Linked DNA regions of Homo sapiens: regions 1, 2, 3 and 4 are each linked to region 5. The links are contacts of gene promoters, found by promoter capture Hi-C in blood cells and fetal thymus (Javierre and others, 2016). All regions are on one chromosome and are shown on one strand. Each heading gives the region's core, a stretch centred on a gene start or on the middle of the fragment in contact. The rest is flanking DNA. Distances are from core to core; before and after follow the strand shown.

Region 1 (4,795 bases), core at 863-3,362, 350 kb before region 5:
TGGACCATGAAGACCCACCCACTCCTCATCCTCATCCCAAAGGACTCACGCCTGCCACAGAAGCTGTGACCTGTAAGCCACTCCCCCAGTCCTGTTTCCAAATCTGTATCATGAGAGTAACAACCGTGCCACTTGCCAGGGCGCTGAGGGTTAACTGAGGCTGGCCCGTGGCACGTGGAGAGAATTGCATCGGGCCCACCATGAGTGCTCCGAGAACCACTGTCGGCCCTGGTCGCCCATCCCAGTAACAGCAGAACAAGAAGTGGTCCTGCCTGAACCCCAGCCCTGGACTGGGCCAGCCTGAGCTCCAGAAAACTGCTCCCTCCCAGGCCTCCCTCCGCGTCAGCCCTTTAGACAGCCGGTGTCCTCACGGCTGGGTGCTGACTGTCACCGACACTCATCGGCAGAGTAAGTGAGCAAGCTCTGGGGCCCAGGCAGGGCTGCTGTCCTCCTGGGGGCTGAGGGCCTCCCTACTGGCTCCTAGCAGGATTGACAAGCATCCTCTGAATGAGGAAAAGAAACCATGGTCCTTCTGTTCCCATCCCAGGCAGGGCTGGGGGAAACCCCCGGGGGCCCCGGTACACCCTCCCACCTCACTTGCAGCAGCCTGAATCATGTGCTCTCTGGCCCATCAGGGCCCATCTCCTACTCCTTAGCTCACGACCCTCCTTTTTCTCCCTCATTCAGACCAGCCTCTGTGAGGTAGGACCATCAGCCAGTGCTCCCTCGGCTCTTGGGCCAGCTGCCCAAAGTGCTGGGATTACAGGCGTGAGCATTCAACCCACCCACCACGTCCACCCGGAGGCCAGGGGAGCCTGCACACCCAGGCCAGTCACGCACCGCGGGGCCGTCCCTTCCCTGTGGTAAGCAATGGCCTGCTCACCCCAGGCCACGCCAGGGGAAGGACGACAGGGTCCTGCACAGCCCTCAACCAGGATCCAGCCGGCCTCACCACACACCACACCTGTACCCAAGAGATGTGTGTGCTATCTCTGCCCTGCCACGGCCACACCTGCCCCCACCCAGACCCCAAACTCAAGGTTGGGACAGAGGAAGGGAGGCTGTGGGGTCATCCCAGGAGGCCCAGTGGGGCCAGGAGCCTGACAGAAGCACCTACCACCCGGCTTCTTCCGAGGCCCCACAGCCTCAGGCGGTGCAGGGTCAGGGCCACAGCACCATCACCTGTCCCAGGAGGCTGAGAGGACAGAACAGAGACTGTGGGTTCTCAGCAGGCACAAAATCGGTGCTGTTACCCACGCGCGGGCCCAGCGGTCAAGGTCCAGCGGCAAGTCCAGGGGCTGTGGCACAGGCCAAGCAGCCCAGGTGGTTCCCACAGGAGGCCAAGGTAGAGAAGTCCCCGGCAGGGACGCGGCACTCACAGCCAAGGGCCGGGCAGAGGCAGCCTCACCTCGCGGGCCGGCCCTCACCTCCAGGGCGCCCTGCCAGCGGCCACTGCAGCAACCCGATACCCAGTCCCCGAGGCCCAGGCGTCCACCTCGGCGGGGGGCCGGCGAGGCCTGCTGGCGGGTGGCAGGGGGCGCAGGGAGCCGCAGCAGGTGTCTGCACCCCGCCGGGACCGCACGCCCGCGCCAGGAGCGGCTCTGCAGCGGGAGCGCCTGCGCCGGGAGCCAGGGTGCGGGAAGGAGCCCAGCAGGTGCGAGCGCGGACGGGGAGGGTCGCAGGCCTGCGTGCGCCCGCGCTCAGGGCGTCCTCCACAGTGGACCCGCTTCAGGCCCCGCCGGGACCCCGCCGCCCCTCGGCGAGAGGGCAGGAAGGGCAGACGCGGAAGGGCGGCGCCGCCCGGACCTCCCCGGCGCCGCCGAGCCCGCTTCCCAGCAGTCCCGGGCGGCGAAGACAGCGACTCCGCGGGCCCAACCCGGGGCCAGGCGACGGCAGCCGCTTCCGGGAGCCCTGGCCCCGCGCAGGTGCGGCCAAAGGCCCTCCCCGAGGACCCGCGCCCACCTCGGAACGGCAGCGGTGCCCCCAGGCGCACGCGCACGGTCCCAGCCAACGGCTCCCCGGGGCTGTAGACGACGCGGCCGTGGCTCAGGCTGATCTCGAAGAGCTGCACTCGCCCCATGCCGCGGCCTCACCGGCCAGCCGCGCAGCGACGCCCCCGCCCGCCGCCCGCGAGTCCCGGCTCCGAGGCCCGGCCCCGCCCCCTCCTATGCCCCGCCCCCATCCGTCCCAATCCCGGCCTCCACCCCCATCCGGCCCCTCCCAGGCCCTGCCCCGCCCCACGGCCCCGCCCAGCCCCCCGGCCGCCCCGTAGCCCGCGGACTGCCGCTCGGAGGCCCGGCCCAGCCCCTATTCCCCGCCCCATCCGTCCGTGTGGCCCCGCCCCCTCGTTATTCCCCGCCCCTCTGACAGCCTCCTCGCCCCGCCCCCGCCCTTCGCCCCTGCCTCGCCTTCCCAGCTCCGCCCCTGCCTCGGCCGCCCCACCCCTGCCCCGCCCCCCGGCCGCGCTCATCCATCCCCGGCCCTGGCCCTGTCCCGGCTGGGTAGGTGCTGCGCTGCGTCGGGCGCCGCTTAAGGGACTTGAGGCGCAAGCGTCCCGTGCGTCCCCCACGGAGGGAGTCACCGCCGCGTCTCCGTCGGGGGGCAGGGCTGGGGGCGGGGCCGAGGCGAGCTCTGAGACTGGGAAGGTCTCCCCGCTGCACTCTGCTGCGGGCAGAACCCACTCCTCCGCCCCCACCCTCCGCCCGTCCCGCCCAGGGGTCTCCCTCACCCCGAGTCGCGGAAAAACGTCACGGGGCCGCGCGGGCGTCCTGGGCGGGGATGCTCCGCCGCGTAGGACCTGCCCCGCCTCAACCCCCACCCCCGGCTCCTGCCCCGCACCCCCAACCTTCTCCGCACCTACCTCGCGTCCCAGCACCTGTCGCGCCCCTCCGGAACCTGCCCGCCCTCCCGCCTTCCCGGTACCTGCCTACCCCCGCAACTGTCCCGGCCCCCAACACCTGCATCGCCCAACCCCTTCCCCCCCCGCCCCCTGCCTTCCCCGCACCTGCCCGGAGTCCCAGCACCTGCCCCGCCCCCCGCTATCCCCCTCCTTGCTGGCCTGATGGGGTGTGGGCCCAAGGGAGCCACACTTGGGCGGAGGCCCTTGGGCAGGGGTCCGCAGCAGAAGGGTCGGGGGCCAGGTGGGGCGAGGACTTGGATCACTTGAAACCAGGAGGAACACACTCCCATTTATCTTTTTTAAAGGGTCCCTTTGTAGAGAGTGAGCCGCGGGGGGTGGGACTCAAATACCCAGGGGACCTAAGGCGGGAGAGACCGGTTGGGTAGTCCTGGAGAGGGAAGGCGTCGCTCGACAAGGACCAGCTCACCACGGAGTGGGTGTGCGGGCCCCAGTGCTGCGAGTTTTTCTAGGACAGCCGGTGAAGAGGGTGGCCTTCTCTGATGGGGAGGACGGACCTAGATACACATGGTTTGGGGGTGGGAGGGTCATCACATGCAGAGTCTGAGGTGCCACTGATCCCCAATGGACCAAGTACTTCCGTGCATGAGCCTGGGAGTCAAGCACTAAAATGTTGCCATCCCTAGTTGGTAGAAGGTAACAGGTCAGGGAGGAGGAGTCTGGCACCCCAGCAAAGAGAAAGGGGCTCACAGGCTGGAGGGGCCCCCGGGCCAGGCTGGGAGAGGCCCTGAAGCCCCAGGCCCAGCTCACTCCCTTAGGATTCCGATGTTTCCGGAGGTGGGTCTAACTGGCCATGCTCCAGACACTTTCCTGCCAAGGCTATGCACAGGCAGAATTCCCGAACAAGAGAGAAGGGTGCCATGGGATGGCAAGGATTGTGGACAGCCCTCCCGAATGGCAGTCGGCCATGCCAGAAGTCAGAAAGAAGGTGTTTCACCGGGCGCGGTGGCTCGCACCTCTAATCCCAGCACTTTGGGAGGCCGAGGTGGACGGATCACGAGGTCAGGAGATCGAGTCCATCCTGGCTAACATGGTGAAACCCCGTCTCTACTAAAAATACAAAAAGAAAAAAAAAAATTAGCCGGGCGTGGTGACAGGCGCCGTGGTCCCAGCTACTTGGGAGGCTGAGGCAGGAGAATGGCGTGAATCCAGGAGGCGGAGCTTGCAGTGAGCCAAGATCACGCCACTGCACTCCAGCCTGGGCAACAGAGTGAGACTCCATTTCAAAAAAAAAAAACAGAAAAAGAAAAAAAAGAAAGTGTTTCAAGCAAGGGACAGACAGACTGTATTGCAAGCTACTGAGATGGAAGACAATGGACACAGAACACAGGTGGCCTTTATCCCAGGTCAGCCACAATCTAAGCCCCACAGGACTCTGCACATCCTTGATTCTGACCCTATCTCCCACCCATCCTGTGTTCCAGAAACCACCACCAGCACCAACCGCCCTGTCATTAGACTCTTCTTCTCCAAGCATACTTCTAGCTGCACTCTCATGAAAACCTGGCTTCCCCTGGAGCTTTCGGGTGTAGAGATATCTTTTCGCAGGATCCCTCTACCTCTGGGTCTGTAGGTGGGGTTGGGGCCCTCCTGGCTCCTTCCTAACACTACCAGGCCATTCTCCACCCTGGGAGCTACCATGTGTAAGCTTCCTGGTCTCAGAATCACCAGCACCACCTTCGCTCTGGTCGGCATCTTCATTTCTTGGTGATTTTAGCTCCTAACTCACTGTCATTCCCTCCATCTCCAAGTGTGGAAACTCAGTGCTTCTGAATCCACACAGGCAATCCTTCCAGCCTCCTGCCCTATATCCTAAAAGTACCTGGGTTTTGTTTGAATCAGGTATAGTAAAGTGACAGACTAGAAGACAAGTGCCAC
Region 2 (4,757 bases), core at 1-2,500, 310 kb after region 5:
AGCGGCCGAGGACCCCTGTGTCTCCATAGAGCTGGCGCACCTGCCAGCAGATCCCATCCCTGGGGGGGCGGGGAGGAGGCACCACAGGCTGGGAGACCCCAACCAGGAATCCTAGTCCAGGCCACAGCCGGGGTGGGGTCAGGGGCCAGAGCAGGGCTGAAGTCCGGGGGCTGAGAGGAGGGTTGGGGTTAGGGTGCAGGGCTGCTCTGGGACTCACAGCTTTCGGAAGGTACTGACAGCCATGGCTGTGCCCTGGGGAGCCACATGCAGTGTGGTGGCCTCGGCCCGGTGGCCCTGCTCCTGCAGGAAACGGCAAGCGGAGCCCACAGCCACAAGGAGCCAGGTCCCTGCAAACTGGGGGCAGACCATGGGAGAACTCGAGGGCACTGTGGGAGGGCCCCTCACCTGCTTCCCTCTACACCCCCCACAACTTCACCTGCTTCCCTCTCCCCCGCAACAACTTCTACCTGTCTCCCTCTACCCCTCCCACAACTTCTACCTGCCTCCCTCTACCCCCCCCAACTTCTACCTGCTGAGCATCAAAATTGGCCTTGGGCTGGATGGTGCTGATGGGGGATGCGGGCCGGCGTGGCCTCTGAGGCTTCTGGCCCAGCGAGCCAGCTGCCAGGAGCAGAGTCAAGAGGGTCGCAGTCCCAGGGGGCAGCATGGTGGCGGCAGCAGGGTGGCAGGACTGTGGGAGGCCAAGGGTAGCACCACCAAGTCCCAGGACAGAGTCTACTCTGCTGTCACAGAGCCCAGCCCAGGAAGTCCATGTCCATCCGTTGCCTCCCCACCCCCCACCTCCAGCCTCCTCGTGAGCCTAGCTTCGATCTGCACTTCCTGGCAGGGCCCTGGCACCATGTCCTATGTACAAAGTCCGAGTTGACCTCTGGCTGTTTATCCATTTCTCCTGCACCCCTGATTTCCACCGACAGTCCTTAGCCCTTTACACGTTATCTTCCTTAAACCATCACCCAGTGGTCTTATCTCCATGGCCAACGTCACGGGGTTCATGAAGCCACTTGCTCAGGGCCCGGCAACAGGGAGCGCCGGAGGCGGGTCCCGAACCAGCGTTCGTTGAGCCTCGCCTGCAACCCCGCCCACGACCGCCGCCCGCTGGCCACAAGGGGCGCTGTTCCCAATGCGCCCGAGTGCGCGCAGGCGCACAAAGAAAAGCCGGCCAGGCCGCCGGAGCCCAAGGCGCAGGCGCACGAGGGGCGGATGCGGGCTACCCGCGCGCTCTGCCTTCCTCGGCCATCGATGCCTCGGGGCTCGTGGCGTCGGGCCTGGCGGGCTCCCCGTTGGGCGGGGGCGGCGGTCCGAGCGGCTGCGGCAGCGGAAGCGGGTCCGGGTCGCGCAGGGCGGGGGCGGCGCAGCGGGCGGAGGCGGCCGTGGTGAGTGCGCCTGCGGCCCTCGGGGGTCCCGCCTTGTCGTCCCCGCCCGCCTTGGGCGAGTGCAGGAGCCCCGAGGCCGCCCGTGCGCTCGTCCCCGCCGTCCGCCCCGAGCCCGCCGGGCAGAGCTGCTCCAGGGCCGCAGGGCGGAGGCCACTGCCTGGCCGCCCCGAGCTTCCTCTCGGCGGAAGCCCGTCCCCGGACGGCGCCTGGTGTCCCCGTGCCTCGCGTGCGGCGGTCCGGGCCCTGGCGGGCTGAGGGGCGCCCGCTGCCGGCCGCAGGAGGCCGGGGGATGACGCGGCGGAGAGGGGCCGGCCCGGCCCGCCCGGAGCTGCCGGGTCCTTGGTTGGGCGGCGGTACCCGGGCGTCCCCTGCAGACACGCAGCCCCGTGGAACTCCCGGCGGGACGGTTGGGGCTGGAGGAACAGGACGCCCGCTCTCGGCCTCCCTTCCCGGGCCTGGGCTGAGGGCAGCCGTTGGTGGGTTTCAGGGCCGCCTGGGCAGAATGTCACGATGGACGAGGGCGGCACGCCCCTGCTCCCCGACAGCCTGGTCTACCAGATCTTCCTGAGCCTGGGCCCGGCCGACGTGCTGGCCGCCGGGCTGGTGTGCCGCCAATGGCAGGCCGTGTCGCGGGACGAGTTCCTGTGGAGGGAGCAGTTCTACCGCTACTACCAGGTGGCCCGCGACGTGCCCCGACACCCAGGTCAGTGGCGTGTGGGGCCCCTACCCACGTTCTGCAGCCAGGGCCCCGGGCCCCTGCGCTTGGGGGTCAGCCTGGCTGGGGGCCCGCCCCGCGGCCCCGCGTGTCCATGCTCACCCCCCCACACCCTGATAGAGGCCTGTCAGGACACAGCGCAGGCGCCCCTCAGAGCTTGGAGGCCAGAGGGTTCATTGGGTCACTTGGGGGGTGGGGGGTACAGGGGTCTCTGTGAGCTACAGGGTTGAATCCCCCAGCCGAGGCCTATGCCATGACTAGTGGGTTCCAGGGGCACCACGGGGCCTGCCAGGACTGCTGGGGCCACACTCGGCTCATGGCCGTGACTGCGAGGAAGGCCCGGGCCCAGGACTGACAACTGCCCACCCGCAGCGGCCATGTCCTGGTACGAGGAGTTCCAGCGGCTGTATGACACGGTGCCCTGCGTGGAGGTGCAGACGCTGCGGGAACACACAGACCAGGTCCTGCACCTCAGCTTCTCCCATTCCGGGTACCAGTTCGCGTCCTGCTCCAAGGACTGCACTGTGAAGGTGAGGACGGCCAGGTGTCCTGCACACCCCACCCAGCTCTGCCGCAGCACGGAGGTCCCAGGACCCAGGCGTTCCAACCAGGTGGTGGTGGGGGGGGGGGTGGGTCAGGCCAGAGGTGACAGCAGCCTCCCTGCATCCAGCGGAGGGACCACAGAGGATCAGGAGCGGTGCAGGGTGGCCCTGAGTGCTGAGGAGAGGGTCCCACACACAGCCGCCTGCTTCAGGGGCAGGCTCCTCCGCTCTATACCAATGCCCCCCGAGTGGATGACAGTGGCTGGAAGGGGTCCCTGCTCCCTGGTGGCCTCTGAGTAGGGCTGGCAGAGCTGGGGCCTCATGGCTGTGTAGTAGCAGGCCCCCGCCCCGCGACCTGGCCAGGCGATCACTACAGCCGCCCCTGCCGAACAGATCTGGAGCAACGACCTGACCATCTCGCTGCTGCACAGCGCGGACATGCGGCCCTACAACTGGAGCTACACCCAGTTCTCCCAGTTCAACAAGGACGACTCGCTACTGCTGGCCTCGGGGGTGTTCCTGGGGCCGCACAACTCCTCATCCGGCGAGATTGCTGTCATCAGCCTAGGTGAGCACGGGCGGCGGGTTGACCCTGCCCCCGCCCCACGCCGACAGCCTGTCCAGCCCCGGCCTCCCCACAGACTCCTTCGCGCTGCTGTCCCGCGTGCGGAACAAGCCCTATGACGTGTTTGGCTGTTGGCTCACCGAGACCAGCCTCATCTCGGGGAACCTGCACCGCATCGGAGATATCACCTCCTGCTCGGTGCTGTGGCTCAACAATGCCTTCCAGGTGCGTGCGGGGCTAGGGGCGGGGCTGCCCTCCTGGGGCCTGGCGCCCGGCGCCCACCTGGCACGTGCCCCCGCCCCCAGGATGTGGAGTCAGAGAACGTCAACGTGGTGAAGCGGCTGTTCAAGATCCAGAACCTCAATGCCAGCACCGTCCGCACGGTGATGGTGGCCGACTGCAGCCGCTTCGACAGCCCTGACCTGCTGCTGGAAGCCGGTGACCCGGCCACGTCCCCCTGCCGCATCTTTGACCTGGGCAGCGACAACGAGGAGGTGGTGGCTGGCCCGGCCCCCGCCCACGCCAAGGAGGGCTTGCGGCACTTTCTGGACCGCGTGCTGGAGGGGCGGGCGCAGCCACAGCTGTCGGAGCGCATGCTAGAGACCAAGGTGGCCGAGCTGCTGGCCCAGGGCCACACCAAGCCACCCGAGCGCAGTGCCACAGGCGCCAAGAGCAAGTACCTCATCTTCACCACTGGCTGCCTCACCTACTCCCCACACCAGATCGGTACACCCCTGCCGCCATGCTGCCCGCCTCGGTCCTAGGAGCTTGGGGGAGGCCGGGCAGGGGTCCTGAGGGGCAGACAGCAAGCAAGTCCACAGGCAAAGCTGGGATCGTTCACTCGCCCCTGGGGTCACAAGCCCAGACCTGGGGCCTGTGGGATGAGCAGTGAAAACAAACGCAGGCAGGGCCGCTGGCCAGCAAGCAACCGACGGGCCTGATTCAGGTCTGGGGCCCCCGGAGCAGGCAGTGCCCACGGACCTCTGTGGTGCTCACAGCCCCAGAGACACCACTGAGGTAGGAAGCTGCCCTGGAGTGATGTCCTTGGGGCATTGGACAGGGACCCTCACCGTAGCCCTCCCTGCAGGCATCAAGCAGATCCTGCCACACCAGATGACCACGGCAGGGCCCGTGCTGGGTGAGGGCCGGGGCTCCGATGCCTTCTTCGACGCGCTGGACCACGTCATAGACATACACGGACACATCATCGGCATGGGCCTGTCGCCCGACAACAGGTGGGCCTCTTGCCAGTGTCCCAGGCGGGGTGCCCGCAGGCGGCCCACACCTAGCACAGTGCCCCTCGCCCAGGTACCTGTACGTGAACAGCCGCGCCTGGCCCAACGGTGCGGTGGTGGCCGACCCCATGCAGCCGCCACCAATCGCGGAGGAGATTGACCTGCTGGTGTTCGACCTCAAGACCATGCGGGAGGTGAGGCGGGCTCTGCGTGCGCACCGCGCCTACACGCCCAACGACGAGTGCTTCTTCATCTTCCTGGACGTCAGCAGGGACTTCGTGGCCAGGTGCAGGGCGCGGCGTGGTG
Region 3 (5,000 bases), core at 907-3,406, 410 kb after region 5:
CACTGTGTATGGGGCTTCCCAGGGCAAGGCCTGAACCCGTGTCCTGCCCACAGCCCTGCCGGGTGCAAGAGGGACCTGGGAGGGGCCTCCAGAGTCAACGTGAGCCTGTGGGGTAGATGCAGCTGTGCGACCTGACCCTGGATACTGGTAGGCCCCATGGGGCTGGTCATGGAAGGAGCCTGCAGGTCACGGAAGGAGCCTCAGGGCAGACAGGACACTGGGGAGCCCTGGGATGGGCTCATAGGAGGGAGCACTGGTGGGCGCCCCAGGTCTTGGCCAGCCCGAGGGACCAGGCCCTGACTCCTCTCGCAAGGGCTTGCCAGACCTCCTCCAAGATGCCCTGGAGGACGATGGCCGTGGGAAGAGCAGTCAGGCCATCAGCGGGCCCCTTTATCAGACCCCAAAGGGCTGAGTGTGCACCGCCACTCCCTGGGGCCACTCCTGTGTTCCCCCACCCACCTGCTTTAGTTAGGGTCTGGGGGCCCCCGGAGGTGGTGACGCAGGGTGCAGGAAGCCAAGGACAGAGTTCAGAAGCCGGCAGGTGTGGCAACACGTTTAATTCTGTGGCCAGGCTAGCCTGTCTCCAAGGCCTGGTGGACAGCACGTCACCAGAGGCTGCCGCAGGAGCAGGCAGGGCCAGCCCTGCAAGAGGAGTGCAGGCAAAGGCGGGGGCTCTGAAGTGGCTGCTGGAGGCAGCAGGCCCCGGGCTGGGAGTGCTCAGTAGCCGTCGTTAGCCCAGGTGACCTCGTAGTCGGGGTACTTGGCTTTGATTTTCTCAGTTGAAATGGCGTGCTGGGCAGGACCATAGGCCTGGAGAAGAGAAGACGCCTGCTGGCACTACCTGGACCCTTCAACCCGATACCCGGCTCTGGGCATCCAGCCACCAGCCACACCAGAAGCGAGTGTGGGAAAGGGATAGGCAGTGCCTGGGGATGCCAAACCCACCATCCCGACCGCCCTTGGGGGCTCCCCTGGGGAGAGGCGACCTCCACAGGCAAGCAAACCTTGATGGTGGATCCTGGGGCCTGAGGCGCCCAGAGGGACGCACGTGGGTCTCATCTGCTGGTGGTTTTTGTGAAGAGCACAGGTGGGGACTCTGAGCTCCACCCAGGTACTGACTGCCTCTGGGGGCCCAGGGCCCAAAGTGCTGGAGGACAGCTAGAGCCCAGCAAGGCCTCCCAAGGCAGGGAGAGGAGACAGCCGGCCATGTCTGGGGGTGTCCGTCCCACCCCTCAGGTCTGGCGTGTGCTCCATGGGGGAATGCAGGAACACAATGGGCCCTGGAGGGAGGGCTCTGCCGCCGACCCTGGGAGAACCCCAGGAAGCCTGCGTGCTCAGCTGGGGCCACGGGTCAGGGCAGCAGGCTCAGGTGGGCCTCGAAGCTGGTACTGGGGCCTCCGGCAGGGCGGGACGGGGCTGCGGCTCACCATGGAATAGCCGTACACGTGAATCTTCTTGTCCTGACTCTGGTGGGAGATGCGCCCGCCGCCCAGACACTCACAGTCGCAGCCTTGCTTCTGCATGTCGCCCGACACTTTGTCGTAGATGTCCGCTGGGATGGGAGGGCGGCCTCAGGACGTGCCCTGGCCGCCCTTGGAGGCCGCGGGAGGAACTCCCAGCCGAAGGGGTCTGAAATCCCAGCTCTGAACAGCCCCTTCCCCAGGAGAGACGAAGCCCCTTGAGGCTGGGACAGGGATGAATGAGCGAAGGAGGGTGGAACCGGGGAGGGCGCGGGAACTGGGAGACTGCTGGGGAGGGTGTCAGGCCGTGTCACGCCCTTCCCGCCCAGGACCTCAGCCTGGGTCAAACCTAGCAGGGGCAGGACTCGGAGCAGAGCGCAGTCCGCTACGGCCCGCAGCCCCGCCCCCGCCCCGCCAGCCCCGCCCCTGCCTCGTCAGCCCCGTCTCCGTCCCGCCAGCCCCGCCCCCGCCTCGCCAGGCGTGCCCCTGGCATGCCCGCAGGTCCCGCCCTCACCATGGTACTCAGCCCACTTGTAGCCGCGCACGATCTCCTTGCTCTCTGCAGCCGGAGCCCCGGAGCGGGGAGCCGAGTGGACTCGGATCAGCACATACTTGAAGACGCCGTCGGAGTCGATGTCCACATCAGGAATGAGAGCGAGGTCCGCCACCGCCATGTTCCTCCTCCCGGAGTCCCCTCCTCCCACCCGACCCGGGGGCCGCTTGTACTGCGGGAGGCGGGCTCTGCGAGAGCGACGACCAATCCCGTCGGGGAATGCTTCCCAAGGCCCAGCGCCTCAGCCAATTGTACCGCCGACCGAGGCACGTGCTGACCAATCGCAATCCAGTTCCTTGCCGCCTTGCGGCTCCGCCAGCCCCGCTTAAAGGAAACGTGGAATCGGGAATGGGTGGTGATGAAATCCAGCCAACGGAGAAGTTCCTCTCCAGCGGGGTCCGGTGGCACCCTTGGAACGGGGCAGTTAGGCGGCCCGCGAGGCTGGGGCAACGAGGGAGGCCTGAGGGACTTGCCAGCCCTGACCTCCTGTCCCGCACGTAGTCCGAAGACCACCCTCCCCGTGGCCCCCACCGCCCAAAGGCCTCCCTCTCTCCCCCTCCCACCGCCCGAAGGCCTCCCCCCTCCCCGCTCTCCACCGCCCGAAGGCCTCGCTCTCCACCCCCTCCACCGCCCGAAGGACTCCCTCTCTTCCCCGTCCACCGCCCGAAGGCCTCTCCCTTTCTCCTCTCCACCGACCGAAGGCTTCCGTCCCCAACCCCGCTACCGGTACAAGGAGGCAACGGCAGCCGCTACATTCAAGTTCTATTTTACTTGGTTCGAAAGCTCTTGCCCCCTGGAAATTATTCCGGTCCAGGGGCGTTCCCGGCCGGCCCTCAGGGGTGGGGCCGAATGCAGAGGCCCTGGGGTAGGGGGCGCGGGGCGCGGCGGCGGGTGGGCAAGCGGGACGCCTGGCCGGTGCAGACGCGCGGGGACGAGATGGGCGTGCCGGGTGCGAAAGCAGGAGCGGAGGCGGGGGTGCCCAATTTCTCTCACTTGGTGCCCCCTCCCCTGGCTCCGAAGTAGGGCTGGGGACTCCAGGAGGGCCCTTGCGTTTGGCCTCCACCCCTCTCCCGCATACCCCACCCTCCAGAGAGCTCTGGGCGCGGACCAGGGTGCACTTGGGGGACAGGTGGAGGCCGGGCCGCCGGGCTTGCGCCTCCACGCCCGCAGTACGGCGTGCGGCCAGAGCGGGTGTGCGGGGACCTCTCGGGACAGGTCAAGCCCCCTCGGGTGGGCTTCCACGCTTACCAACTAGCTCTCTCCCTCACCTGCTCGCACCACGCTTTGCCCTCCAGGCTCCCACCTGGGAACGCCCCGTCCCTTGGTCCTTCCTCTCCTAGCCAGGTGTCAGCTCTGGCCAGGCCCAGGTGCTCTGCTTCCCCTGTTCAGGTCCCCTGCCCCTTCGGCTGGGAGACTTGCATATCGGCCTGAAGACCTCCCTGCGGTTTTTCCCAGCTCCTGCAGGGCCCAGACTGCAGCGGCTGGAGGCGAAGGGACGGCAGGGCGCGTGGCGTGGTTAGTGTGCTGGCTCCGACCAGCGGGAACGCACTGCGCACCGTCCGCCCTGCCCACCGCCTCGGCGGGACGCGCTCGCGCACACGGACGCACAGAGGTCGACCAGGGTGTTCTCCAGCGAGGAGGCAACACAGCCGCGGGAGGCGGGGCGGGGCGTGTTTAAAGTGACAGACTGGGCTTTGGTTACGTCGGGCTTCTGGACGAGGGGAAACCGGAGTCGGGGAGGCTCCAGCGAGAGCCCCGCGGACCGACGGGGACCGGATCTCTACGGGTGGGGTCTGTGCAGTAGTGACCCCTCCGAGTGAAGGCAGAGCTCGGCGGTCCTCAGGCCCACCCCGCCTCCCAGCGGGGAGCACCGAGGGCGAGGACCGACTTCTTCTGGGGATCCTCGAGGGCGAGCTGGGAGAGGGAGGAGGCCCGGAGGAGGGAGAGGGGTTGCTGGGGGTGGGAAGGCGAAGGGCCTGTGAGGAACACTACGGGGACGAAGGGCCGGGGGGTGGGGGCCTGGGCGGAGCTGGAGGCCGAACTGAGCGGAGCTTGGAAGGCTGGGGAATTAGAGGCGGGGCCTAGAAGAAGTCGGGGTGGGGCCCTGGCGGGGCTCGGGGGCGGCCCTGGGTGGGCCGGGCGGGGCCTGAGTGGGCAGGGCAGGGTTCGGGCCAGCGCCTGGGCTAGGCCTGGTGGGCCCGGCGCCTCACATGATGTCGTCCAGCAGGTTGGCGCTGGCCACCCAGTCGAGCGCGCGCGGCTCGGAGGCGGCCATGATCATGCACATGAAGGGGCGGCCGGTGCGCCGGTCCGTGGGGTAGATGGTGGTGGGCGTGAAGCGCCTGTTGGCCTCGACGAACTCGCAAAGCTGCTCGTAGACGCGCGGGAACTCGTGGCGCAGGAAGACGCCGCGCAGCCGCAGCTCGCGCTGGATGTGGATGAAGGCCACCTCGCGCGCGCGCCGGCCCGCCTCGCCGTCCTGATCCAGGCCCGCCGTGCCCGGCGGTGGCGTCAGGATCAGCGTCTCCATGTCGGGCTCGCGGCTCCGCGCCGGGGGCGGCCGCGCGGGGCTGCCGGCCGCCAGCGCTACCTTGGCGAACTTGCGCACTGTTGGCCCGTGGCTGCGTGGCGCGGGCGCGGGCAGGGCCGGTGTCCCCGGTGGCGCGGTGCCGGGTCCCACGGCCACGGACACGCTGAGCAGGAAGCACTCTGCCGGTTCGTAGAGGCGCCCAGCGGCCGCCAGCTCGCGCGCGTAGCTGCCCAGGGGCGCCGCGTGTGTGGCCAGCTCACGCAGCGATAGGTAGGTGGGGGATAGCAGCAGCCCCTCCAGGCCAAAGCGCAGGAAGTTGTCGGCCGAGCCTGGACTTGGGAAGCCCAGGAAGAGCACGCCGCGGCCGCGCGACAGGAAGCCGACACGCGCGATGCGCGAGAAAGCGCGGTGCACCGGGCCGCTGTCGCGGCAAAACTGCAGTACGTGGCGGCACACG
Region 4 (5,079 bases), core at 1,600-4,099, 320 kb before region 5:
CTCAGCAGTGAGCTTCTGCCCAGAAGAATCCACAGGGCATGTTCAGCAGGCCTGCTGCAGATGGTGGAGGGGGCTGGCCAGCCAGGGTGAGGTGAGGGTCTCACTTCTCCGTCCGTCTGCAGGGCTGTGGTTTCCAGGATAGCCCTCCCTCTCCTTGGGGAGCCCCAGGTGTCTGGGGCTGGTCAGCATCTTGTACCCATAGAGCTGCCCCAGGGAAACATGCCAGGCTGTGTGGCTGGGATCCTGCCTGTCTCCAGGTGCGCCCAGCCAGAGGCCTTGCTTCTTGGGAGCTGGAAGCCTGGCCAGTCCGACTCTGACCTGTCTGGTCTGGTCCGGTCCGACCCTGTGTTGGTCCCACAGGTTGCTGCTACACTTTCCCTTCTTGAAGCTCCACTGCCATGTTCCAGGACACCCTGTGTGTTCTCATTGCTGCCCCTGGCTGGGCTGGCTTTTGTCTGTAAGCAAAACTTCCAGTACCTTTTCTGGCAGTACCCTGGGGGCTCCTGAAGAACAGGACTGCTGAAAATGGGTGATATCAACAAACTCCGCAGGATTTCCTGGAGCTTAGAGAACTGCATGTGCCCACATCAGGCCCTGAGAAGCCCCCTTAGCTGCTGCAAAGGTTGGGGACATTTTTTGCTGAGTAGGTGAAAGCTGCCAGGGAGGGGGACATATGTGTCCCTAGAGATGGCGGGTCAGCAGGTTGGGGTTTGGGGCAGTCTTCAGGCCTGGAGCCCCGAGTGCCCTCAGGCAGCCTGCTTTCAGATAGAGTCTGAGGATGAGCACGGAGTGCAGGGGTCCCCTTTACCTGCATCCAGGGGTGTGGCCATGTTGCCCCTGACCAGCAGGGCTGCTTTGTTTGGCAGTCATTCATCAGAAAAGTGCACTGAAAGAAGCGCCCAGGGCCTCCCACCTGTGAGACACCACGCTGGGGAAGGGGGCGGTGCAGGTTCTAGGTTTGCATGTGGCAGCTCCTCCAGGCCTCACCCCAGCAGGTGGCACCGTGAGGGTGGGACGGGCCCCACCACTGCTTCCCTCTCACCTGATACCCAATCCTCTGGTCATCTTTCCCGTTCCGTGGCCCCGACTTCTTGGTCTTCGTAGCCAGGTATCTAAGACGTCCTGTGAGGACATCCAGATGGCTGCAATGTGGGGCTGCTTCTAAAGCTTGTTTGGAGTGTGGTGTGTTGGGATGCGCACCTGGTCACTCTCCCTCCCCCGCAGAGGTGTGTGGTTGAGGCCCTTTTGGAATGCCCTGCTGCCTTCCTGGCCAGCCTTTTCTGCGCCTCTGTCTCTGTGGTGGTCTGAGCTGTTGGCTCTCTGCCATGTCTTTAGCCACAGCCCTGCTTGAAGCCCTGAGGCTGAATACCCAGGCACCCGTATATTTCAGTCAAGTCCGCCTTAGCTTCCTGGAGCTGCCGCAACAAAGCAGCGCGAGCTGTGCAGCCTGAAGCAGCGGGAATTCACAGTCTAGGCTCTGGAGGCCGGAGTCTCAGATGAAGGCGCAGGCAAGGGCCCTCAGGTGCGGACGCCTCCTCCCTGCCAGGTGCCTTGCCTGCCTCCCTGTGCTCTGCACAGCAATGGCCCTGCAAGTCTTCTGCATCAGCTTTCTCTTCTGCGGACTCCTGCTCCTCTGGGTCAGGGCCCACGCCTGCTGCTTCTGAGAGCCCCTGTTTGTTAAGGATGCTCTCTGAGGTGCTGGGGTCTTCAGTCCATTGTTTTTTGGGGGGCACAGTTCAACCTGTAACGGCCCAAGGGGTTCTTCCTGCCCGCTGCACACATTCAGACCGTGGATTGCAATAAAGAAAAAAAGTTTAGGGCCGGGCGCAGTGGCTCACACCTGTAACCCCAGCACTTTGGGAGGCCGAGGCGGGTGGATCACGAGGTCAGAAGATCGAGACCATCCTGGCTAACACGGTGAAACCCCGTCTCTACTAAAAATACAAAAAATTAGCTGGGCGTGGTGATGCGCGCCTGTAGTCCCAGCTACTGGGGAGGCTGAGGCAGGAGAATGGCTTAAACCCGGGAGGCGGAGCTTGCAGTGAACTGAGATCGCGCCACTGCACTCCAGCCTGGGTGACAGAGCAAGACTCCGTCTCAAAAAAAAAAAACAAAAAAATTAATAGACACGGGCCGGCCAGGCCACATGTGAGATGGAGTTCGTCCTCAGATCATCTTGTCCAAAGCTCCTAGGTTAGGGGTTTTTTCAAAGGCAGTTTTGGGGGAGGGGGGCGGCGGCCAGGCGACTGGTGCTGATAATCATAGGGGTCGGAGCCGTCCACCTGCTGAGCCGCTTCTGGGGGGTCCTGATGCAGCCACGGGTGTCAGACAAGCAAAGACCCTGGAAGGCGGTCTCTGAGGGGCAGCTCCGCCATGGCGGGTTCACAGGAGGCAGGCAGAGCGCGCCTGCGGCCTCGGGGTGCTGGGCTTAGTGGGGCGCGGGCTCCTCATCAGCTTTACGAAGGCGTTGATTCCGGGGCAAGGCCTGTCATGGAAACTGCAGCCTAAATGTTAAGTCAGCGCGGCCCGATGGCCAGGAGTAACCGGGAGGGCGCCACGGGGTGCGCTACCGCAGCTCGCTGTTGGGGTTTTTCTCAGTGATAGAAATTTTGCAGAGGCGGCTTCAAACCTACGGCTCTGTCACTAACTTGCCGTCTCCAAACCTGCTTTGTGGAGGAGCGGATTTCCCGAAGCCTTCGGTCTCTACGGCCCCGCAGGGAGCAGCGCGTCTGACGCCTGAAGCCCGCCGCGGTCAGCCGGCCGACAGGGGGCGTGGGAGCCTGGCTTCCCAGGGGCGTCCACGGAGGCCAAGGCCCTGCCGGATGTCCCGCCCCGGCACCCCGGAAGGAGTCGCGAGAGAGGCGGCCCGCGCTGACGGTGTCCCTGGGGCTCTGCGCTCGTCCGGCCGGCCCCGGCCTCGCCGCCCCGCGCAGTACCCAGCCCGGCCCCGCCGACCCGCCTCTACTGCCGGCTCCGCGCCCTTCCCCGAGGGCTGGATGATGGGCTGTTTCGCCCTGCAAACGGTGGACACCGAGCTGACCGCGGACTCGGTGGAGTGGTGCCCGCTGCAAGGCTGCAGGCACCTGCTGGCGTGCGGGACCTACCAGCTGCGGCGGCCGGAGGACCGGCCTGCCGGCCCCCAGAACAAGGTGCGCGCGCCGCGGCTTCGGGAGGGGAGGGCGGGGCCGGCCACGAGGTTGAGGCCGAAAGGCGCACCGAATCGCCCAGGAGATGAAGAGGGGATATTGGCCCTTTGGCCAGGAGGTAGGCTGGAAACAGTTTAGAATCTTTTTAAAAAAATTGTTCTCGGCCGGGCGCAGTGGCTCACGCCTGTAATCCCAGCACTTTGGGAGGCCGAGGCGGACGGATCACGAGGTCAGGAGATCGAGACCATCCTGGCTAACATGGTGAAACCCCGTCTCTACTAAAAAAATACAAAACAATTAGCCGGGCGTGGTGGCGGCGCCTGTAGTCCCAGCCACTCGGGAGGCTGAGGCAGGAGAATGGCGTGAACCCGGGAGGCAGAGCTTGCAGTGAGCCGAGATCGCACCACTGCATTCCAGCCTGGGCGATACAGCAAGACTACATCTCAAAAAAAAGAAATTACTTTTTTCTGAGACAAGGTCTTGCACTGTCACCCAGGCTGGAGTGCAGCCTCGGACTCCAGGGCTCAGGGCATCCTCCCGCCTCAACCCCCTGAGTAGCTGGCACCACAGGCACGAGCCACCGCCCCCGGCCAACTTTAAAATCTTGAGAGCAGAACGTCTTCTATATACAGGTGTGGCCCAAGGGAATGGGTGGAATGTACAGTAAAGAGAAAGTGGGAATTATATCTTAACTTCTGGTGGGTACATATTAGGATCCAAATTGGGCACTGGAACAACAGGCGTAAGTCAGGACTGTCCCAGGCAAACTGGGTTCTGTGGTTACCCTAGCCATAGCTGGTCCCTGTTGGCCGGTTTAGAAGGAGCCTTCTCTACTGGGTCCAGGAGTGTTCACCTACTCATTAATAGACGTTTCTCCAGCTCAGAAAACCAGAGGTTCTCCTTCCAGGCAGAATTCCACTCCTTTAGTCATGGCAAACCTTTGAGTTCCTTGGATCCCTTTTCCCATCCTTTGGGTTCCTTCGTGTCTTGGGATAATCAGAGACTACCTCTGCATTTTTTGTAGGGTGGAATGGAAGTTAAGGAGCCTCAGGTCCGTTTAGGCCGTCTCTTCCTGTACAGTTTCAATGACAACAACTCTATTCACCCTCTGGTCGAGGTCCAAAGAAAAGATACTTCTGCAATCCTGGACATGAAATGGTATAACTGTGATAATCCCACTGGGTGTAGAATTTGTCATGAGTAGCAATCAGGGAAGCCTGATGCCTGATGCCTTCAACAAGACAGGCATTGCATCTCAACTTTGGATTTGTTTCTTTGCTGTCCCGCCTATCTTCCACCTGGGGAGTGCTTTACCTGGGGCTTATTTCCTTTGTCATGTTCCAGCCGGGGAAGTGATGGGAGTTTTCTGACTTCATAACCTGGGGCGTCTTTTGTTTGAGAACACAGTTGTAGGCTCTAGCCCACTTTTGGAGCTGAGATTTAAATGCAGTGGTGTGTGGCATAATTATGTTTTGGTCAACAATGGAGCACGTATACCATGGTGGTGCCTTAACGTAATGGAGATGCCCTATACAGGTGTACCAGTTTTTATCCTTTTTAATTTTTTTTTTTTTGAGGCAGGGTTTTGTTCCGTTGCCCAGGCTGGAATGCAGTCACGTGATCATAGCTCACTGCAGCCTTGAACTCCTGGGCTCAAGCAATTCTCTGTCTCAGCCTCTCGAGTAGCTGAGACTTCAGACTTCAGGTAGATGCCACCATGCCTCTTTTTTTTTTTTTTGAGACGGAGTCTCGCTCTGTCGCCCGGGCTAGAGTGCAGTGGCGCGGTCTCGGCTCACTGCAAGCTCCGCCTCCTGAGTTCACGCCATTCTCCTGCGTCAGCCTCCCTAAGAGCTCGGTCTACAGGCGCCCGCCACCACACCCGGCTTATTTTTTTGTATTTTTAGTAGAGACGTGGTTTCACCATGTTATTAGG
Region 5 (5,150 bases), core at 497-2,996:
CACGGCCTGTCCCCTCACCTCGCCCTGGCGCCTGGTCTTGGGGGAAGGACTGAAAAAGTTGTGCAGGACAGAGAGCTCTGTACTGAAGAGAGCGCTCTCCTTCTCCAGGATGTACTGCTTCAGGAGTGGGGAAACCTCGTCCCCGAAGAGGGCCTGGTTGTCTTGCCAGATCTGCCGCTTCACCTCCACGGCGCAGGCTCGATACAGCTCCTTGTCAGCCATAACCAGCTTCAGTTTTTTCTCCGGAACCTACATGACACCACAGGCTGCCTGTGAGTGGCACCTGTGTCCCTGGGTCTCCTTCAAGACAAGCCAAGAGGCCTCAGCCCCGCAGAGACCACCTCGAGCTAAGCTCCACCCCACAGGGCACCTATGACTGGTTCCCCGGCCCCAGCATGTCAGACAGACATGCTAAATACCAACAGCTCTTTCCCAGGAGGGGCCCCACACCCTAACTCCAGTGCTAAGGTTCGGTCTCCACGCGGCTCATGTGGGAGAAGTCAGCACAGAGCTCACCATGGACAGCACTTGGGCAGGCAGCACAGGAAGCTCCCGGAGCTAGGCGGCCACCGGAACTTCCACTAACCAAGGGCATGAGAGTGGGCGGACGGTCCACGCCATCAGGGTTAGGGTTAGGGCCCTACCTTGGGCAGGTGCTTCATGACGCACATCACCACGGGCTGCAGGGACGGCATCTTCACCAGAGAAAAGCTCTTCTCCAGAAGGTCTTCCAGCTTCTTGTACCTGGAACAACTCACAGGATTGATGGTGCAGCGATGCGCCAAATCGCAGCAGCTACCTGCCTGTCCCTACACAGATAACAGCTACCAGGACAAGCCTCCACGCCCAGGACACATGGGTCAAGGGGTCACTCAGACACAGGCCCAGGCCACCTCTGGGAGCAAGGATGTGGAGCCAAAAGGACAATAAATGCCCCTGAGTCGATCCAAGGCTGAGAGGCCGGCTGCACATCTCACCTGCCCACCCCTCCCGCTGACCCACCTTTCCTCAGCCTTCCCCTCCGAAGCGATGGCTGACACTCGCTCCAGCAGCTTGTCCCGCAGCTCATCGAATACCGACTGGTGGAACTCCAGCCGCGGCGTCCCGTGCAGGTCCAAGAAGGGGAGGGCTGACTGAAGAGATGGCAGCAGCACACCATTCTCTGTCTGAGGAAGCCAAGAGAAACCTCAAACGCAGCCCAGTGCGCCCGGGCACCCCGAGGTCCTGAGAGCACAGGGAGGCACGCACCCAGGTGTTCCCAGCCGTGCTGGCGGTAACCGCAGCCACCGAAAGCCACCCAGCCGTCCAGCAAAGGGGTGCTGGCTCCGGACTCCACCCCCAGAACAGGACTCAGCCACCAGCAGAAAGCCGGAAAACTTCCGGCGCCTCCGCCAGGCCCGACTCCCGAGCAGGCGGCCCGGCCCTCCAACTGGGCTCCCCCCGCCCCGGGGGCCGCCCCACCTGGAACTGCTCGATGGCCTTGAGCGGCTCCGTGCAGTTGGTCAGGGTCTCCTTCAGGTCCTCGCCGTTGGCCACGCCCAGGTCCTGCAGCCCCGCGAACATGGCCGAGGCCCCGGCCACCGCCCGGCTAGGCGCCCCATCCCCAGCCCGTTCCCCCGGCGCCGCCGCAGACACCCCAGAAGCCCGCTCCGCCGGGCCTCGGGGACCGCCCGAGCCCCGCTCCCCGGCGCCCTCCAGCTCGGCCAGGTCCCGCCCGCCGCGCGACTCCGCGCGCGTCCCGCAGCCGCCCACTTCCGCCCCGCACCGCCCAGGTCCGCCCGCCAACCGGCCCCCGGGAAACGCCGCCGGGGCCGCGCGCAGGTTCCTGGGAGCAGCGCCCTCACCCGGCGCGAGAGACCCCGCCCAGCCAGCCCAGCGCGCATGCGCCCACCCGGTCCCGCCCGCGCCCGGGCTTTCTGGCAGAAGAGGGCGGGTGAGGGCGTGGGGGGCGGACTCAGGGTCCGTCTGCTCCGGGAACGGACGTCGTCGCAGCCGAGTGAATTTCGTGTACATAAGCGTGGAAAACGCTCTTGCAGATCTCGCGGCAGCCACGCGCAGCGGGGACGTTTTGCCGGGGGTTGAGCTCCCCGCCCCTCTGCCCCGCAGGGGCCGGACACAGGCGCAGACTCCCTCCTGAGCGTGGGTTCCTCCGCGTGAAACGGGCACGAAGCCCACCCCGGCGCTGTCGCCAAAACTGAGATCTGAGCGCCTTCAGGGGGCCGGGGCCTGGCGGAGACCGGGCCCGCAGCGGGAGCGCGAGCGACGGCCGCCCTCCCAGGCACCGGGAGGCTGTGGCGCCCACCGAGCTCCGCGGAGCCGTGAAGGAGAGTCCAGGTTCCACAGTGTCCCTTCTTATCCCAGGCGGGTGGGCTCCCCGGGCCTCCCCGCCTCTCCAGCCCGCCGCCCTCCCGCAGGCTGTGCCGCGCCAAGCCCCCTACACACACCCTCTCTCTTTTCGGTCTCCGCTGCTGAAATTTTCTCTAGAAATTTCTTTCCCGCTGCCCAGCAAACTCTTGCTCTTCCTTGAAGGCTTCTTCCTCCACCACCTCCTCCAGGAAGCCCTCCCTCCTCAGCCCAGCTGGAGGAGATCGCTCCATCTTTCCTGCCGCTCCCACTCCTAGCTTTGGGTCTCACCAGGGGTGCCTGGTGGTGCAGCCGTGAGCAGAGCTCCTGTTCCCACAAGCCGGGCCGAGCTCCCAAGGCCATGGCTACCACAGCTCTCTTGCCGCTGGCCAAGTTGGTCAGCCCTAGGGCGAGGGTTCCAGTGCCTTGATCCAACCCCCAGCTGGTTCGGTGGCAGAGGAGGACAAGGGTCACAGCACACACACAATCCTGAGCCTGGGATTCCTCTCTGAGAAAGGGGGTGGTGCTGAGGCCACAGAAGCAGCTGCCCAGAGCCTTTTTGAAGGGGTTGAGCTCTGGGCCTGGTCTGGGTCCTGGGTCTGGGGAGGACCTGGGGAGGTGCGGGTGACGGCACCGCAGGTAAGGCTCCTGCAAGGTGGCAGCCTTGGGGCCCGACCCTGGGTAGGAGGGCAGGCCAGTGATGACAAGGGAGGCCCCAGCCAGGCGAAGTTGCAGGCAGGGGCAGTGCAGGGTCCCAGCAGGTGAAGGCCCCGGGAGTGGAGTCTGCAGGGCCCTGGGCCAGAGTGTTCAGGGCACAGGTGACTAAGCCCAGCCAGGTCTTCAGCTCAAGGCCTAGGGGAAGTGGGGCTGGGCCCTGGTGAGCAGATCCCTGGGCCCTTCCTGAGGTCTGGCCAGGCCGACCCCACCTGGAGGTGGCGGCTCAGGGCATTTGACGCCTCCTTCCCAGTTCCCTGGCTCGGCAAGCAGCTGACCCTCAGGTGGACAGCAGCTAGACCAGGCCCCTGAGTGACACGGCTGGGTGGGGGTGTCCCACAGAGCCCACCTCCCATCTCGCTCCAGGCTAGAGCTCAGGGTCAGTCACAGGCTGCCACCCTAGAGAAGAGAGCACCTTTCAGGGGCAGCTGAATGGAGACCCCTCAACAGGGAAAGCCGGAAATGACCCAGCGGCAGCCATATCTCTAGGACCGCCCCCGGGTGAAGGACAGACAACTGCACACCACAGAGCTCGGGAAAACCAACAGCATCTCAGTGTAGCGGGGAGATGGGCAGATGGGGGATCCAGGCTGGGCCAGCCTTGTCCACAGCCCATAGAAGGGTTGGCCAGCCAGAAGGGTGCATCGGGGTGCCCAGAGGGTCAGAAGGCCAGGCTGGGGCCCCAAGTCCCAGGGGAGGCCTGGGAAAGCCCCGGGGGAGGCCATGGTTCCACTCGGTGGCCGGGCCAAGCAGGTTGTGCCCAGCTGGCTCTAGAGCGTGCAGAAGGGGCCTGTGTCGTGGCGCTTGGGTCTGCGTACACCCTGGATGACCACGCCAGGCGCCGAAGGGAAGCGTGAGTTGCAGTCCTCCACGTGGTAGGCGGCTGGGCCAGGGGTTCGGGCTGCCGAAAGAGAAGGCTGGGAGCCCCACCCAGGTAGCAGCCCCAACTCAAACCTGGCTCCCAGTTCCCACCCCCGGCCCCTGAACCCTTGTCCTCACATTGCCCACCCATGCCCCATCCCTAGCCCTCTTCTCTCCAGGCCTCCTTACAGGTGCTGAGCCAGGAGGTGAACGCAGGGGAGCGGCTCATCGAGAAGGCCGGCGAGCGGGGGCTCTGCAGGCGGCTCCCAGGAAGGATATTGTAGGTGTTGGGGCCAGGGCATCTCTTGCCAGGTGCCTGCAAAGAGGCCTGAAGCAGGGACTGGGGCTGCACCCTGAGGCCCAGCCCCCTAGCCCCAGGCAGCCCTAGGTGGGTGTGGCCTTCAGGTGTCTTGGAAGCGGAGTGGCAGCCTCTGAAGCTGAAGGCGGGGAAGGCGGGCCGGCTGAGCAGCTGGTAGTGGGCTGGCGAGGGCCACTGCGAGGGGGTAGGAGACGGGCTGCAGGGCAGGGTGCTCCCCACGGACCCTCAGCCAGCCCCCCTTTGGCCCCACTGGAACCCCCAGCCCCCTGCCTGCGTGGACTCCCCGCCCCCTTCCTGCCCAGCCCCCAACCTTTTGCTCTTGGTCGAAGTCAGCTTTCTGCGTGAAGGGGCTTTCGCTCTGGAACCACAAAGTCTGCCATGCCCTGCGGCCACCGCCCTCTGTAGTTGGAGGATGGAGAGAGAGAAGGCTGGGAGCCCCACCCAGGTGACAGTCCCCACTCGAACCTGTCTCCCGGTTCCCACCCTCGGCCCCTGAACCCTTGTCTTCACAATGTCCACCCATGCCCCAGCCCTAGCCCTCCTCTCTCCAGGCCTCCTTACAGGTGCTGAGCCTAGAGGTGAACGCAGGGAAGGGTGGAGGGGCCCTCAGGCCGTGGGGGTTTCAGCACAGAGGCAAAGGCCCCCATTCCCAGGGTGAGGGACAGGCCCGGTGGTTGGGCCTCAGGGAGGGGACACACACCTCGGCCCTGGTGCTTGCAGCCGATGCTGTAGTGGGGGTGTGGGGAGGACTCTCGTACGGACGGGCTCGGCACCTGGTACCTGGTGGGGCTGGGGACTTCCAGGTCAGCTGTGATCAGGGGGCGTTGCTCCAGCACTGGCCACAGGAAGCAAGCTCTGGGCCTGGGCTCCTTTCAGCGGGCCCCTCCCACAGCCCCCCAAAGACCAGCTTGGG

The links. The method cuts DNA at HindIII sites, captures the fragments that hold promoters and counts their contacts. A CHiCAGO score of 5 or more calls a contact.
Region 1: a contact is called between the fragment with the promoter of ARRDC1 here and the fragment with the promoter of NELFB in region 5, in 6 of 17 cell types (naive CD8 T cells, M0 macrophages, non-activated CD4 T cells and 3 more). The highest score is 9.2, in naive CD8 T cells.
Region 2: a contact is called between the fragment with the promoter of FBXW5 here and the fragment with the promoter of NELFB in region 5, in 12 of 17 cell types (erythroblasts, M0 macrophages, total CD4 T cells and 9 more). The highest score is 10.0, in erythroblasts.
Region 3: the fragment with the promoter of PHPT1 here is called in contact with the fragment with the promoter of NELFB in region 5 in 8 of 17 cell types (neutrophils, fetal thymus, naive CD8 T cells and 5 more); the score reaches 9.8 in neutrophils.
Region 4: the fragment with the promoter of DPH7 here is called in contact with the fragment with the promoter of NELFB in region 5 in 11 of 17 cell types (naive CD4 T cells, total CD4 T cells, non-activated CD4 T cells and 8 more); the score reaches 8.7 in naive CD4 T cells.

Annotation. Positions count from the first base shown.
Region 1 is chr9:137,603,003-137,607,797 of GRCh38, reverse strand. ARRDC1 (arrestin domain containing 1) reads right to left here and starts at 2,112. Exons shown (of 8, transcript NM_152285.4): 1 at 1,963-2,112. The coding sequence starts at 2,080. It overlaps LOC124902318 (a long non-coding RNA gene), which reads left to right and starts at 2,460. Exons shown (of 3, transcript XR_007061885.1): 1 at 2,460-2,501. RefSeq lists silencers at 1,441-1,710, 1,721-2,850. The HindIII fragment of the contact is 16,425 bases long and covers 1-4,567 here.
Region 2 is chr9:136,941,231-136,945,987 of GRCh38, reverse strand. FBXW5 (F-box and WD repeat domain containing 5) reads left to right here and starts at 1,250. Exons shown (of 9, transcript NM_018998.4): 1 at 1,250-1,394; 2 at 1,882-2,097; 3 at 2,482-2,639; 4 at 3,045-3,219; 5 at 3,293-3,441; 6 at 3,522-3,942; 7 at 4,304-4,451; 8 at 4,525-4,737. The coding sequence starts at 1,905. It overlaps C8G (complement C8 gamma chain), which reads right to left and starts at 745. Exons shown (of 7, transcript NM_000606.3): 1 at 530-745; 2 at 218-354; 3 at 1-59. The coding sequence starts at 667. RefSeq lists silencers at 1,207-1,786, 2,167-2,236 and an enhancer at 2,072-2,837. The HindIII fragment of the contact is 9,073 bases long and covers 1-4,757 here.
Region 3 is chr9:136,846,565-136,851,564 of GRCh38, reverse strand. It overlaps PHPT1 (phosphohistidine phosphatase 1), which reads right to left and starts at 2,156. Exons shown (of 3, transcript NM_014172.6): 1 at 1,975-2,156; 2 at 1,428-1,552; 3 at 541-810. The coding sequence starts at 2,134. The coding sequence ends at 718. It overlaps AJM1 (apical junction component 1 homolog), which reads right to left. Exons shown (of 3, transcript NM_001080482.5): 3 at 2,764-5,000. The coding sequence ends at 4,220. RefSeq lists silencers at 1,835-1,914, 2,305-2,364, 2,545-2,624, 2,705-2,764, 2,985-3,214 and 1 more and an enhancer at 1,905-2,184. The HindIII fragment of the contact is 15,345 bases long and covers 1-5,000 here.
Region 4 is chr9:137,576,695-137,581,773 of GRCh38, reverse strand. DPH7 (diphthamide biosynthesis 7) reads left to right here and starts at 2,849. Exons shown (of 9, transcript NM_138778.5): 1 at 2,849-3,149; 2 at 4,171-4,304. The coding sequence starts at 2,997. RefSeq lists enhancers at 2,444-2,503, 1,598-2,569 and a silencer at 2,754-3,163. The HindIII fragment of the contact is 6,073 bases long and covers 1,170-5,079 here.
Region 5 is chr9:137,251,923-137,257,072 of GRCh38, reverse strand. NELFB (negative elongation factor complex member B) reads right to left here and starts at 1,746. Exons shown (of 13, transcript NM_015456.5): 1 at 1,462-1,746; 2 at 1,003-1,166; 3 at 645-744; 4 at 19-249. The coding sequence starts at 1,707. STPG3 (sperm-tail PG-rich repeat containing 3) reads right to left here. Exons shown (of 6, transcript NM_001004353.4): 3 at 4,938-5,072; 4 at 4,548-4,636; 5 at 4,108-4,411; 6 at 3,590-3,958. The coding sequence ends at 3,828. STPG3-AS1 (STPG3 antisense RNA 1) reads left to right here and starts at 3,576. Exons shown (of 4, transcript NR_038389.1): 1 at 3,576-3,910; 2 at 4,098-4,198; 3 at 4,567-4,682. It also overlaps a transcript of CIMIP2A not described here. RefSeq lists enhancers at 443-1,390, 1,391-2,338 and silencers at 1,349-1,408, 1,449-1,628, 1,639-2,008, 2,199-2,378. The HindIII fragment of the contact is 15,726 bases long and covers 1-5,150 here.